3 separate regions of the Homo sapiens genome follow, and regions 2 and 3 are each linked to region 1. Evidence: promoter capture Hi-C in 16 types of primary human blood cells and fetal thymus (Javierre and others, 2016). All regions are on one chromosome and are shown on one strand. Each heading gives the region's core, a stretch centred on a gene start or on the middle of the fragment in contact. The rest is flanking DNA. Distances are from core to core; before and after follow the strand shown.

Evidence for each region. The method cuts DNA at HindIII sites, captures the fragments that hold promoters and counts their contacts. A CHiCAGO score of 5 or more calls a contact.
Region 2: a fragment that was not itself captured here is called in contact with the fragment with the promoter of TLR8 in region 1 in 1 of 17 cell types (non-activated CD4 T cells); the score reaches 6.2 in non-activated CD4 T cells.
Region 3: a contact is called between the fragment with the promoter of GS1-600G8.3 here and the fragment with the promoter of TLR8 in region 1, in 7 of 17 cell types (total CD4 T cells, non-activated CD4 T cells, naive CD8 T cells and 4 more). The highest score is 8.2, in total CD4 T cells.

The regions. Positions count from the first base shown.
Region 1 is chrX:12,904,914-12,908,691 of GRCh38, forward strand. It overlaps TLR8 (toll like receptor 8), which reads left to right and starts at 1,707. Exons shown (of 2, transcript NM_138636.5): 1 at 1,707-1,796. The coding sequence starts at 1,794. It overlaps TLR8-AS1 (TLR8 antisense RNA 1), which reads right to left. Exons shown (of 5, transcript NR_030727.1): 3 at 3,303-3,420; 4 at 1,277-1,338. The HindIII fragment of the contact is 3,594 bases long and covers 1-1,822 here.
Region 2 is chrX:13,387,052-13,390,829 of GRCh38, forward strand. It overlaps LOC124905248 (a long non-coding RNA gene), which reads right to left. Exons shown (of 2, transcript XR_007068395.1): 2 at 500-766. Among named protein-coding and RNA genes, the nearest start is that of LINC01203, 54 kb to the left of the region's middle. RefSeq lists a silencer at 886-985. The HindIII fragment of the contact is 1,122 bases long and covers 1,126-2,247 here.
Region 3 is chrX:13,308,565-13,312,342 of GRCh38, forward strand. It overlaps GS1-600G8.3 (unknown transcript), which reads left to right and starts at 2,088. Exons shown (of 17, transcript NR_046087.1): 1 at 2,088-2,178; 2 at 2,292-2,358; 3 at 2,466-2,524; 4 at 3,138-3,149; 5 at 3,269-3,294; 6 at 3,497-3,567; 7 at 3,671-3,778. The HindIII fragment of the contact is 25,262 bases long and covers 1-3,778 here.

The sequences.
Region 1 (3,778 bases), core at 457-2,956:
GTCTCATTCTGTCACCCAGGCTAGAGTGCAGTGGCACTATCATGGCTCACTGCAATCTCCACCTCCTGGGCTCAAGCGATCCTCCCACCTCAGCCACCCGAGTAACTGGGACTACAGGTGCACACCACCATGCCTGGCTAATTTTTGTATTTTTTTAGAGACAAGGTTTTGCCATGTTGCCCGGGTTGGTCTCAAACCCCTGAGCACAAGTGATCCTCCTGCCTCGGCCTCTACAAAGTGCTGGAATTACAGGTGTGAGCCACTGCACTCGATCCATTCTTACTTACTTTCTTTACTTTATTTCCAAGCAAATGTTTGGAGGGAAACCAAGAGACTTGGATGCGGCCAGCCGAGGCCTTTGGGTTTACAATCACAAATGTTTTTGGTTTGCCCATGAAGGCCCAGGCTGCACTCTCTGATGTCACAGGAATCACCTCTCAAACCATGCACCAGGTCTTGAATTCCCTTAGGGTGTGATCTTTAGAGGTCCATCTAGGTATACCCACCCAAGCCATTCTTTGACTGCTGACAGGCCTTCCTTCATAACAAGGTGTTCCACAGTCCATTTATATATGGATGTCATCTCTGCCCACCCTGCTGCCAATTTGGTTTTCTCCCACTCCTGGGGTGTAAGGCAAGATGAAACATATCACATCCCGTTCTAAACTTTATTCTTGTGGCCAGGGGTCAGCAAACTTTTTCTGTAAAGGGCCAGATGGCAAATATCTTAGGTTTTACAGGCCAAGAAGCAAATTTGGCATATTATGTAGCTACTTATATAGTAAAATAAAAATTTCCACAATTATGTAATTGATGAAACTCAAAATGTAATAATAATAATCGAAGGCAGTTTTTTTGTAGTATAGGTTTAATAATGAGAAGAATGGAATCATTTTTGGAGGTGCTAACATTCTGCTTGGTTGGAATTTAAAGTTAGTGTTCTGTATCAGCAAATCCATTGCCAATGTTCATCTAAAAATGTTTTCACTTCTGGGCCGGATTTCGTTCAAAGGCTGCAGTTTGCTGACCTCTGCTCTTGGTTACACCTTTTGAGGCCCTTGCTCTCCGAGCATAAAATGGAATCCATTTATCAGACTAAATCGGGAAGATTAAATTTTCCAGCCTCACGAATGCTCAGCCATTGACTCACTCGTTCATACAATGAACACTCATTGAGCTTATACTACATGCCAGGTGCTGGAGGAGGCATGGGGCGCCCAGGAGAAAGATGCTCGCTTTGCGGCCACAGCCCAGTGGGAGGGAGACCCATACCTACCGGTGCTGTCTCAGAAACTTGTGGAACAAAGATGAAGCAATGTTCATGTTATTCGCCTACATCTGTGAATTACACAAGGAAGACGAGTTTGAGAAATCCGAAGTTCAGTACAAATTTATGGTAACTTTTTTAAAAAAGAATACACTGAAGTTTTCTTAGTGAATGGAATAATGTTCCCTTTTTCTCCCCTGTACACACAAATACACAAAAACTAACAAAAATACGTCGTGTGTGTCTGATTTGGGTTGTATTTAAATCATTTCATAAATGACTTTTTCCCATAACTTCAGTTTCAAAGTTTTAAAGCACAGTCAATTAATGATTTGGCAACAGCTAAGAAATCACAAGTTCCCTTCTTTTCATGTAAACTTCTGTAAAACACACGCTACGTTCTGCTGATGGTAAATAGAGCCATTTCAGGAAGTTAGCCAGTTTCTCTTCTCGGCCACCTCCTGCATAGAGGGTACCATTCTGCGCTGCTGCAAGTTACGGAATGAAAAATTAGAACAACAGAAACATGGTAAGCCACTTCTATTTCTTTAGCAAAGCTTTCCAACAGAATATGGGGTTTCTGACCCAGAAATCTGGGTTGGTGGCAAATGGTGTGAGCCTAGAAAGTAATAAATGGGCAAATAAGGATAAAAATTAAAGATCGAAACAACTGTAAATGCAGGTAAAGCGGCTTGCTATGATCTTTAATTTGTGCACACGTTAGTATAAAGGAATTAGAGAGTAAATTTTGAAAATCAAATGCAGTGATGATCTTACTAATTTGGACAGGAAAATAAGAAAATTTCAAGTTAGAAATTGAACTGGAAATATTACTTACTGGCCCTACCAGAGACAATATCCTCTTCCAGAACAACAGGGTTGGAAGAGAAGGTGAGGGAAATATTCTTCCTTTGCTATTTCTGTAGAAAAGGACAAACTCTCTTCCTTCACATACATAGGTCAATTGCTAGATCCTAGTGAAGCCTGAGCTTAACCTACTGTTGGAGGCTTAAAGTTCGACATTAATTGCTACTTTTCTTGGTCAGAGTTTTAAATAATTAGGTTGGTACAAAAAACTGTGATTACTTTTCCACCAACCTAATAACATGCTACAATTTCTGTAATTATTATTTTACACTGTCAAGACATAGCAGGTGGTCCGTTTTTGTTATTGTCAAGAACTGTCAGACTAAAAATGAACTTTACACTTCTTTTTAAATGATACATTTTCTAGAAAATTCAATGAGGTTTAAGAGCAATTGAAAAGTCTGATTTCAAGAGAGTCTCATCCAAAATGTACTATATATTTTTCCCCAAAGTCCTTGGAGTTAATTTTGACAACAATTTAAAGTACACTTAAGTCTTTTGAAGTTAATGGGTCTGCCACCCAGGTTGGAGTGCAGTGGCGTGATCTCAGCTCACTGCAACCTCCGCCTCCCGGGTTCAAGCGATTCTCCTGCCTCAACCTCCCAAGTAGCTGGGACTACAGGTGTGTGCCACCACGCCTGGCTAATTTTTGTATTTTTAGTAGAGACGGGGTTTCTCCATGTTGGCCAGGCTGGTCTCGAACTCCTGACCTCAGGTGATCCGCCTGTCTCAGCCTCCCAAAGTGCTGGGATTACAGGCATGAGCCACCGCGCCCGGCCTGAAGTTAATTTTTATACCCACCTAATGTTCATTATGGATCTTGAAGGTAAATTAATTCTGCACTAAAATTTTACAATGCTTTACAAAATGACTGTAGGTGGCCCATATGGAATTCGGTCAACTGGGCCAATGACACATATGGGATTGCAGTTGAAATTATCCAATTCCTACTTGATATTTGTAAGCTGCTGTGATAGCCAGTATAATTGTACTGTAAGAATGTGGTAAATAGCCGGGGCCCGGTGGCTCACGCCTATAATCCCAGCACTTTGGGAAGCCGACGTGGGCGGATCACTTGAGGTCAGTAGGTAGAGACCAGCCCGGTCAACACGGCAAAACCTCGTCTCTACTAAAAATACAAAAATTAGCCAGGTGTGGTGGTACGCACCTGTAGTCCCAGCTACTCAGGAGGCTGAGGCAGGAGAATCGCTTGAGCCCATGAGGTGGATGTTGCAGTGAGCAAAGATCGCACCATTGTACTCCAGCCTGGGCAACGGAGTAAGACTCTGTTTCAAAACAACAACAACAACAACAACAACAGATTGGTAAATAGAGTAATAATAAAATCAAATTAAACTTGCAAAAAATGGCCACTTTGCTCCCACTGGTGGCCAATGGAGGTCAAGGACCTGGCTGACCTCCTGCCTAAAGGCAGAGGTTGTTAGCCTTCGCAATGGACTCAAATCAGAGGGGGAGCTTTCAAAACTCCTGCTGCCCAGACTGAACCCCAGATCAATGAAACCAAAATCTCTGGATACAGGGCTTGGCATTTGTAGCTTTTAGAGTTCCTAAGTATCTCTACTGTGCAGCCAAAGTTAAGAATCAGTGCCTTAGAACATCAACAGTTTTTTGGTCCTTTTGTTA
Region 2 (3,778 bases), core at 437-2,936, 480 kb after region 1:
ATATTTATGAAGACAGCCTCCAAGACCTTTCATATTCCCCCACATTTGTGTGTATCCCTGACACATAATACTTCAATTCCCTCAGCCTTAAAATCAGGCAAGTGTGCCTACATCACAGGATTGTTGCAGGATTAAATGCAATGCTTTATTAAGTGAGTTGGAGACTCTGGGTTTATTCATTTCCTAAGGGACTTTCTGACACTAAAACACACACTAGCCAAATAGTGCTTCTCTTCCAAAATGGCAAATTACTTCAAGCAAAAGCCCTTCAGACTCAGCAGGGAAGAAGTAAAGAGTCAAATGTTACATCCACCAATACCAGGAGAATCCAGGGAAGTCTCTTTAGTTTCTTTTTCTTGTATTCCTTATATTGCTGTTAGATTATGGATGAAGGAAAAAAACTCCCAGATCCTAAAGCATGCTGACTGGACCCAAATAAATGACATTATGAGAGCCTGTATTAGTTATCTATTGCCTTCCAACAAATTACCCAAAAATATTGTGGCTCAAAATAATAAACATTTATTATCTCAGTTTCTGGGGGTCAGGAATTCAGGAGCAGCTTAGCTGGGTGGTTCTGGCACAGAGTCTCTCATGAGGTCGTAGTCAAGATGTTGGCTGGAGTGACAGTCATCTGAAGCCTTGACTGGGGTTGGTGGATCGTCTTCCAAGACGGGTTACTCACATGGTTGTTGGCAAGAGGTCTCAGTTCCTCCCCAAGTGGACCTTTTCATAGGGCTGCTTGAGTGTCTTCATGGCATGGCAGCTATGATATAAGAGAGACAGCAAAGAGGAAGTTGCCATGCTGACACCATCTAGTCTCAGAAGCCACACACCACCACTGCTGCCATATTCTATTAGTTAGAAGTGAGTCACTAAGTCTAGCCCATGCTCAAGTGGAAGAGAATGAGTCTCCACCCTTGAAAGGGAAAAGTTTCAAATGTGTTGACCTATTTTAAAGCTACCACAGGGCAGCTGTCTGGGTGGCTCCTTCATCAGTTTTCTTGCAACACTTCATATCAGCTCTCTGTACCTGCCAAACTTCAATGATTATAAATGTATGAGTCTAGTCATGTATAAAAAGCTCTGAAAAATTAGGTAGAAGAAACTTCAAATAGTTTAATAAGCTTTGCATTGCATTTTCATTCCCCTTTGGTTGGATTTTCATTGGAATGTGGATTTCTATAAACTACATATTAAAACTCCCTTTATGGGTCATTGCTAATCTAAAACTTATGGTGATTTAGACAGGGATTGGATTATAAAATAACTTTGTCCATAAGCACAAATAAAAAAGTGTAAATGAGATCTGAGGAACAGTGTTTACATACTTTAATGAGGTCATTGCTTTCAGGCACTTTATGGGCAAACTTTCCATTTAATTAAATCACAGAGGCCAGATTTAAGCTGACACTTTAAAATGTTCATTAAAAAAATTATCCTTTTTGTACCCTGGACCCAAGGGAAAGATCATGAAGTATGTGCTATATGCACAACTATGTCCTGAGAACAATGAATCAGCTGTTTTTTAAGGCTATTTTTCTTTGTTTGCATTTTCCCCTAAATTCTATTGTAAAAAATTTTAAGCATGCAGAAAAATTGAAAGAATAACACAATAAACACTTGGTTATCCTCCACCTAGATTTGATCATTTTGACATTTTGCCAAATTTGCTAATTCTCTCTCTCTGCACACACACACACACACACACACACACACACACACACACACACAGAGAGAGACATAGATGCACAAAGCCTATAAAAGCATCGCCTTTTTGGAGGTGCTGACCCATTTGAAAGTAAGTTGCAAATAATACCATCACTCTTCACCCGTAAATATATCTCCCAAGGAAAGGGGACATTCTCCTATATAACCTTAATACCGTTGTCATATTTAAGAAGATTAATAATAATCCCATTACATGGCCTTCGCATGCAAATTTTCCAGCTGACAAGTCAAAAAGACGCAGAAGCCAGCTTAAGGGTGTTCCTACTGATGAAATTAGGAAAAATTTGAGCATCAGAATGAATGACAATAAAGGAGTATAGCCCATTAAATGAAAGAAGGATCTGTGTGTCCATATTTATATAAATAAATGGTGGGGAGGCAAGGGGAAAAAACATTGTCCTTGTAGTAGAAAACCACCTATTAAATAGAAGGAACAATGGGATAAGAAAAATTACGGTCATAATAAAAATCGATTTAGGCAAGAATCATCAATGGATACTAAAATTAGTGGGTGGAAGCTTGAGGAGTATATTGTATTAGTTTCCTACTACTGCTGTGACAACTTACCACAAATTTTGTGGCTAAAACAATGCAGATTTATTATCTCACAATTCTGTAGGTTAGAAGTCCAATGCAAGTCTCCCAAGGCTAACGCCACCATGTTAGCAGGGCTGCATTCCTTTCTGAAGCTCTAGGGAAGAAGCCCTTTCCTTGCCATTTCCAACATCTAGAGGTATATATATAGCGTATTTTTATTTTCTCTATTTTTAATGCTTTGACATCTTGGGGGCTTGGTGACCCTGGAGCTCTTCCAAGGGCTAGCTAATCCCTAGAGATAGTAGAGGATTTGACTGCAAGTGTGCCTTTCTAATGCAAACCAACTAATCCAAAGCCCACACCCACAACTGCCTCCTCTATTGAGCTCTGACACCCTGGGCCACCACTACCCTGCCTTAATCACCCAGGCTAGGTGCCAGACACTAGAGACAGCCCTTACACCTCAGAGTCCACTGAAATTATTCAAACTAGCTGATCTAAACCTGCTTACCCTGCCTCACCCATTTCTTCCAATGGAAACCACAATAAAGGCTCTTGCCCACATTTTCACCTTGCACTCTCTGCCTCCTGACCAACTGATAATAGTTTGGATGTGTGTCCCTGCCCAAGTCTCATATTGAAATGTAATACTCAGTGTTGGAGTTGGGGCCTGGTGGGAGGTGATTGGATCATGGGGGCAGTTTTCTCATTAATGGCTTGGCACCATCCCCCTTGGTATTGTCCTCATGATAGTGAGTTCTTGTTAGGTGTGGGTGTTTAAAAGTGTGTAGCACCTCCTCCCTCACTCTCTTGCTCCTGCTCTGGCCATGTGACATGCCTGCTCCCCCTTTCCATCATGATTGTAAGTTTCCTGAGGCCTCCCCAGAAGCTCAGCAGATACAGCATCATGCTTCCTATAACAGCCTGCAAAACCATGAACTAATTAAACCTCTTTTCTTTACAAATTACCCGGCCTGAGGTATTTCTTTTTTTCTTCTTCTTCTTTTTTCTTTTTTTTTTTTTTGAGATGGAGTTTTGCTCTTTCACCCAGGCTGGAGTGCAGTGGCATGATCTCGGCTGATTGCAACCTCCATCTTCTGGTTTCAAGCGATTCTCCAGCCTCAGCCTCCCGAGTAGCTGGGATTACAGGTCCACGCCACTACCACCTGGCTAATTTTTGTATTTTTAGTAGAGACGGGGTTTCACCATGTTGGCCAGGCTCATCTTGAACTCCTGACCTTGTGATCCAACTGCCTCAGCCTCCCAAAGTGCTGGGATTACAGGGCGTGAGCCACCACGCCCAGCCCCTGAGGTATTTCTTTATAGCAGTGTGAGGACGAACTAAAACACCAAGCCCAGTGCTTCCTCATGTAGCCCCCATAATTTGGCATGTCCCTACTCTTGGGATCTGCGAGTATAACAAAGTATTTTTTCAATGGAAATAAACGCCTGGTCTGTCGGCCTCACTGTATCTGAATAATAATAAGATCCACATTTTAAAACAAAGGCC
Region 3 (3,778 bases), core at 838-3,337, 400 kb after region 1:
TTACCATTAAGTGGAAGTGGCTCATGATAAAGGTCTTCATCCTCACTGTCTTTGTGTTAAGTAGACAAAGGAGGAGGAGGAAGAGGATAGGTTGATCTCGCTGCCTTGGGGTGGCAGAGGCAGAAGGAAATCTGCATAAAAGTGGACCTGCACAGCAACCCTTGTTCTTCAAGGGTCCACTGCATATATCATATATAAAAATAACAGTTACATAGTATTGCAATTATATCCAGACATAATAGGCAAGACATGAGACATAAAATATAGAATTAATTTTGGAAGTCATCTAAATCATGCTCTGAGGGAAGGTACAAGGCTACTAAAGGCAAAGAGCCTTGCTAAGTCAGGGTGTGGCATAACTGAAAGCCCAAATGCCAGACTTTGTCCTCTGCTTAGCCTAAACCAGAGGTCAGATGTCTCTTGTCGCCAGATGTTGATAAACACAGAGAGGTAAGCTCTTCAGTTACCCTATCACCACCTTACTAATACATATGACTGCAAAACGTTGCCTTCATGTAAGTCAGAATATGAAGGAAAAGCCCCTAATGAATATGATTTCATGAACTTTGGACATAAAAACTCACTTGGTAGTACATTATAATTTTAAATCACATTTAATTCCCTGCCAGCCAGGAAATAATTCCATGGGAAGTCAATCAATGAAAGTTAACAAAATCATTACTAGAAAAAAAGGTAATATTTTTCATTTTCAAAAAGTAAAGGGTTGGGTTGAATGAGAAGTAGATATAGGAGACAGAGCAGCATTCTCAGGTGTTGTTCATGCCCCTGCCATTGTTTTAATTATGGCCTCAATATTCTTTCTCATGGCTGATGGTTGACTTTGGTGAGTAGAAGTAGGTAGTAGCTAAGAATAATCATGAAAAAATAGAACATTTTCTTTAAAAAGGAAAAATTGCCTAATGATATATCAGTTTTGTATCTACAATCACCATAGAACATTTAGGTTATTTGTACTCTATTATCAGGAAAGATTGGGGAAAAGTGGAGTGGCAAAGAGAAATAAAGAAGTATTAATTGGAAACCACCTCAAACATGAGAAAAATAGCCTTTATTTATTTCATTCTGCATCTGCTAGTCTCTGGGCAATCTAAAAAAACAGTCTTCAGAATTATAGCCACATGGTGATTTTTTTCCTCTCCAGAATTACAAGAAAATTGGCTCCCACACTGTGGAACTAAAAAGAGGGGCTATAGGGTGCTGCTTCTCTCTCTTGACATTTTACTTGGTTTTCAAAGGAATTCGTGACTAAGAATCTCATGGAATCTAAATGCGGTCACTGATGGAAATTTAGGTTTCCACAAAGAGTGCAGGAAGAAATTTACATGGCAAAAAAAAAGAAAAGATTTGCTCTGGCAAATGGGTGAGGTAAGGATGTGTGTGTGTGTGTGTGTGTGTGTGTGGTGTATATATGTACACGTCACATACATATATCAGTGAGTATGTATATCTCAATGATTTTCATTTGCTAGGTCTAGTAATACATCTAATTTTTAAAATAACGAGTTTTTTTCCAGCAGTTGTATAAAAATAATTACTTAATTATTGTTTTTCTTTTTCAGCAAGTTTATGAACTTTGGACATATTGAGATTATGTAAGTCCTTGGACAGCATTAATATAATATTATCTAATTTGTAATAAAAGTGTATACCCATTTTATTCATTAAGTATAAATATTTGGAAAGACGATAGATTTTAAGCCAGGTATGGAGTGAACTGACACATTCATCCACAAAAGTCAGATCAAGTTAATGAAAAAAGAGAAGATTGAGGTGTTACTATTCAGTAGTACTTCTTTTTATTTATTACTTTATTCATCAGCACATCCAGGAGAGCTTAATAACTCGCTCTCCTAGAATAAAAATCCTAGTTGGTACTCCCACCATGGCCAATTTTAAGGACAAGGAACACTAAGTTACAAGGAAATGACAATAATCAGTTCTCATTAGATGGTAAGGACAGGTGTGAACACTGTGTTACAGCTAACCAGGAGAAAAAGGAATGTTACGGAACTTAAACTGCTTAGAATGTTGATATAATAAAGGGGGATAGGGAAACAGCAAGCACTGAGGCTGGTGAGCCAGGCAGAAGTCAGAGTGGGAGGAGCCTTGAGGTCTCTCCAGGAGATTCAGGGACCATAGGATTTGGTAGTGATTCAGGTATGGGATGATCATGGCCCTCATCATTGTAGTGACCACAGTATTTTGCAGGAATCCAAAAAACAGATGATAGACATGTCCGTAACCATGATAGTGCCCATGGGATTTTGTAGCTATAGAGTGAAAAGATGACAGTGGCCATATCCAGGGTAATGTCTACGGGAATTTGTGAATATCCAGGTAAGAAATGAGTGTTTCTACTTAGGAATTGAACATGGGATACTGAAGTTATAAAGGTAGGAAATGATGATAAACCTAACAGTGGGGGTGAGCATGGTGTTTTCTAGATATCCAGATAAGAGAGGATGATGGCCCTAACTCGAGTACCAAAATTGGATTTCCTCAGGTAAGCACATAGGAGCTGAAGATGTTTCTTACCATGTTAGTGAACATGGCATTTTGTGCTATTCCAGACATGATGGCGAACCTAACCACAAAATGACCATGAGATTGTCAGGGGTCTAGTAAAGACATGATGGTGCCCTTAACTGTGAAGGTTATGACGAAATTTGTAGGTCAGTAATTAAGAGATGATGCTGATAATAACCACAGTAAGGAGCAGGGGATTTTGCAAGTAACCAGGTAAGAGATGATGGTATCTCTAAAAATATGGTGACCATGGAATTTTGAGGATATCCAATCAAGGAATAATGTGTTACTAGTAATGGTAGTACCAAGGGATTTTACAGTTACCCTGGAAAGAAATGATGTGTCCCTAGCAATGGCATTTAATCTGGGTAATTTGTAGGTCTTCATGTATGGTAGGCTTCTCTAAATCTGGTAGATCTCACGGGCTTCTGTAGGCATCCACATGAGAGATGACGTGACACAAATTGCAACCAATTGCCACCATTGTAACCTAGGTGTTTTATAAGTATCCAGCTTAAAGCTGTAGCTTTATTTATTCCTTGGATGTAAGACTTTCATGTTATCTATTGTTTTCTTTCTTTTTGAAACAGAGTCTGGCTGAGGTAAGTGCTGATGTGGGCCTAAACCACAGCCTGCACCGTGGGACTGTCACAGAGACACAGTTGAGTGATGATGTGTCCCTACAGGCCTTACCACCATTATTTCCTTCATACTTATTCAGGTGAGAAATGATTGAGTCTTGTCTTGGTAAGTGATGATGGTGATGATGGTGTAGGCCTCCCTGTTGTTCCCGATTTCGCTTCAGGTGTCCCTGACATATTCGAAACCGTGAGTTTTCCCTCTGCATATTTCAGAGACAATGCCTAACCCCGTGTTCACAGTGGAACTTTGAATACTTGGTAATTATCCGGTGTTCCTTCCCACAGCAGTGACCATGGACATTTTGCAGGTGTCCTGTAGAGAGAAATGCTGTCTTCTGGGACCACCGCCCTGAGCTTGGGGGCCCCCACTAGCATTCAGGTAAGAGTCCTTCAGTGATGGATGTGAGCATCGTGATTTGCAGGTGTCCTGGTAGAACACCTTGTGTGTTTCTGAGGCATATATCTCAGTATATGTTTTCCAGGTTCCCGGGAGAAAATCCTGAAGAACGGGGGTCATGAGCAGGGGACGTGTCTGCTATCTGGGTAAGTGATTGTGTGCACCATAAACTTACCACGGACAACCTGATCTT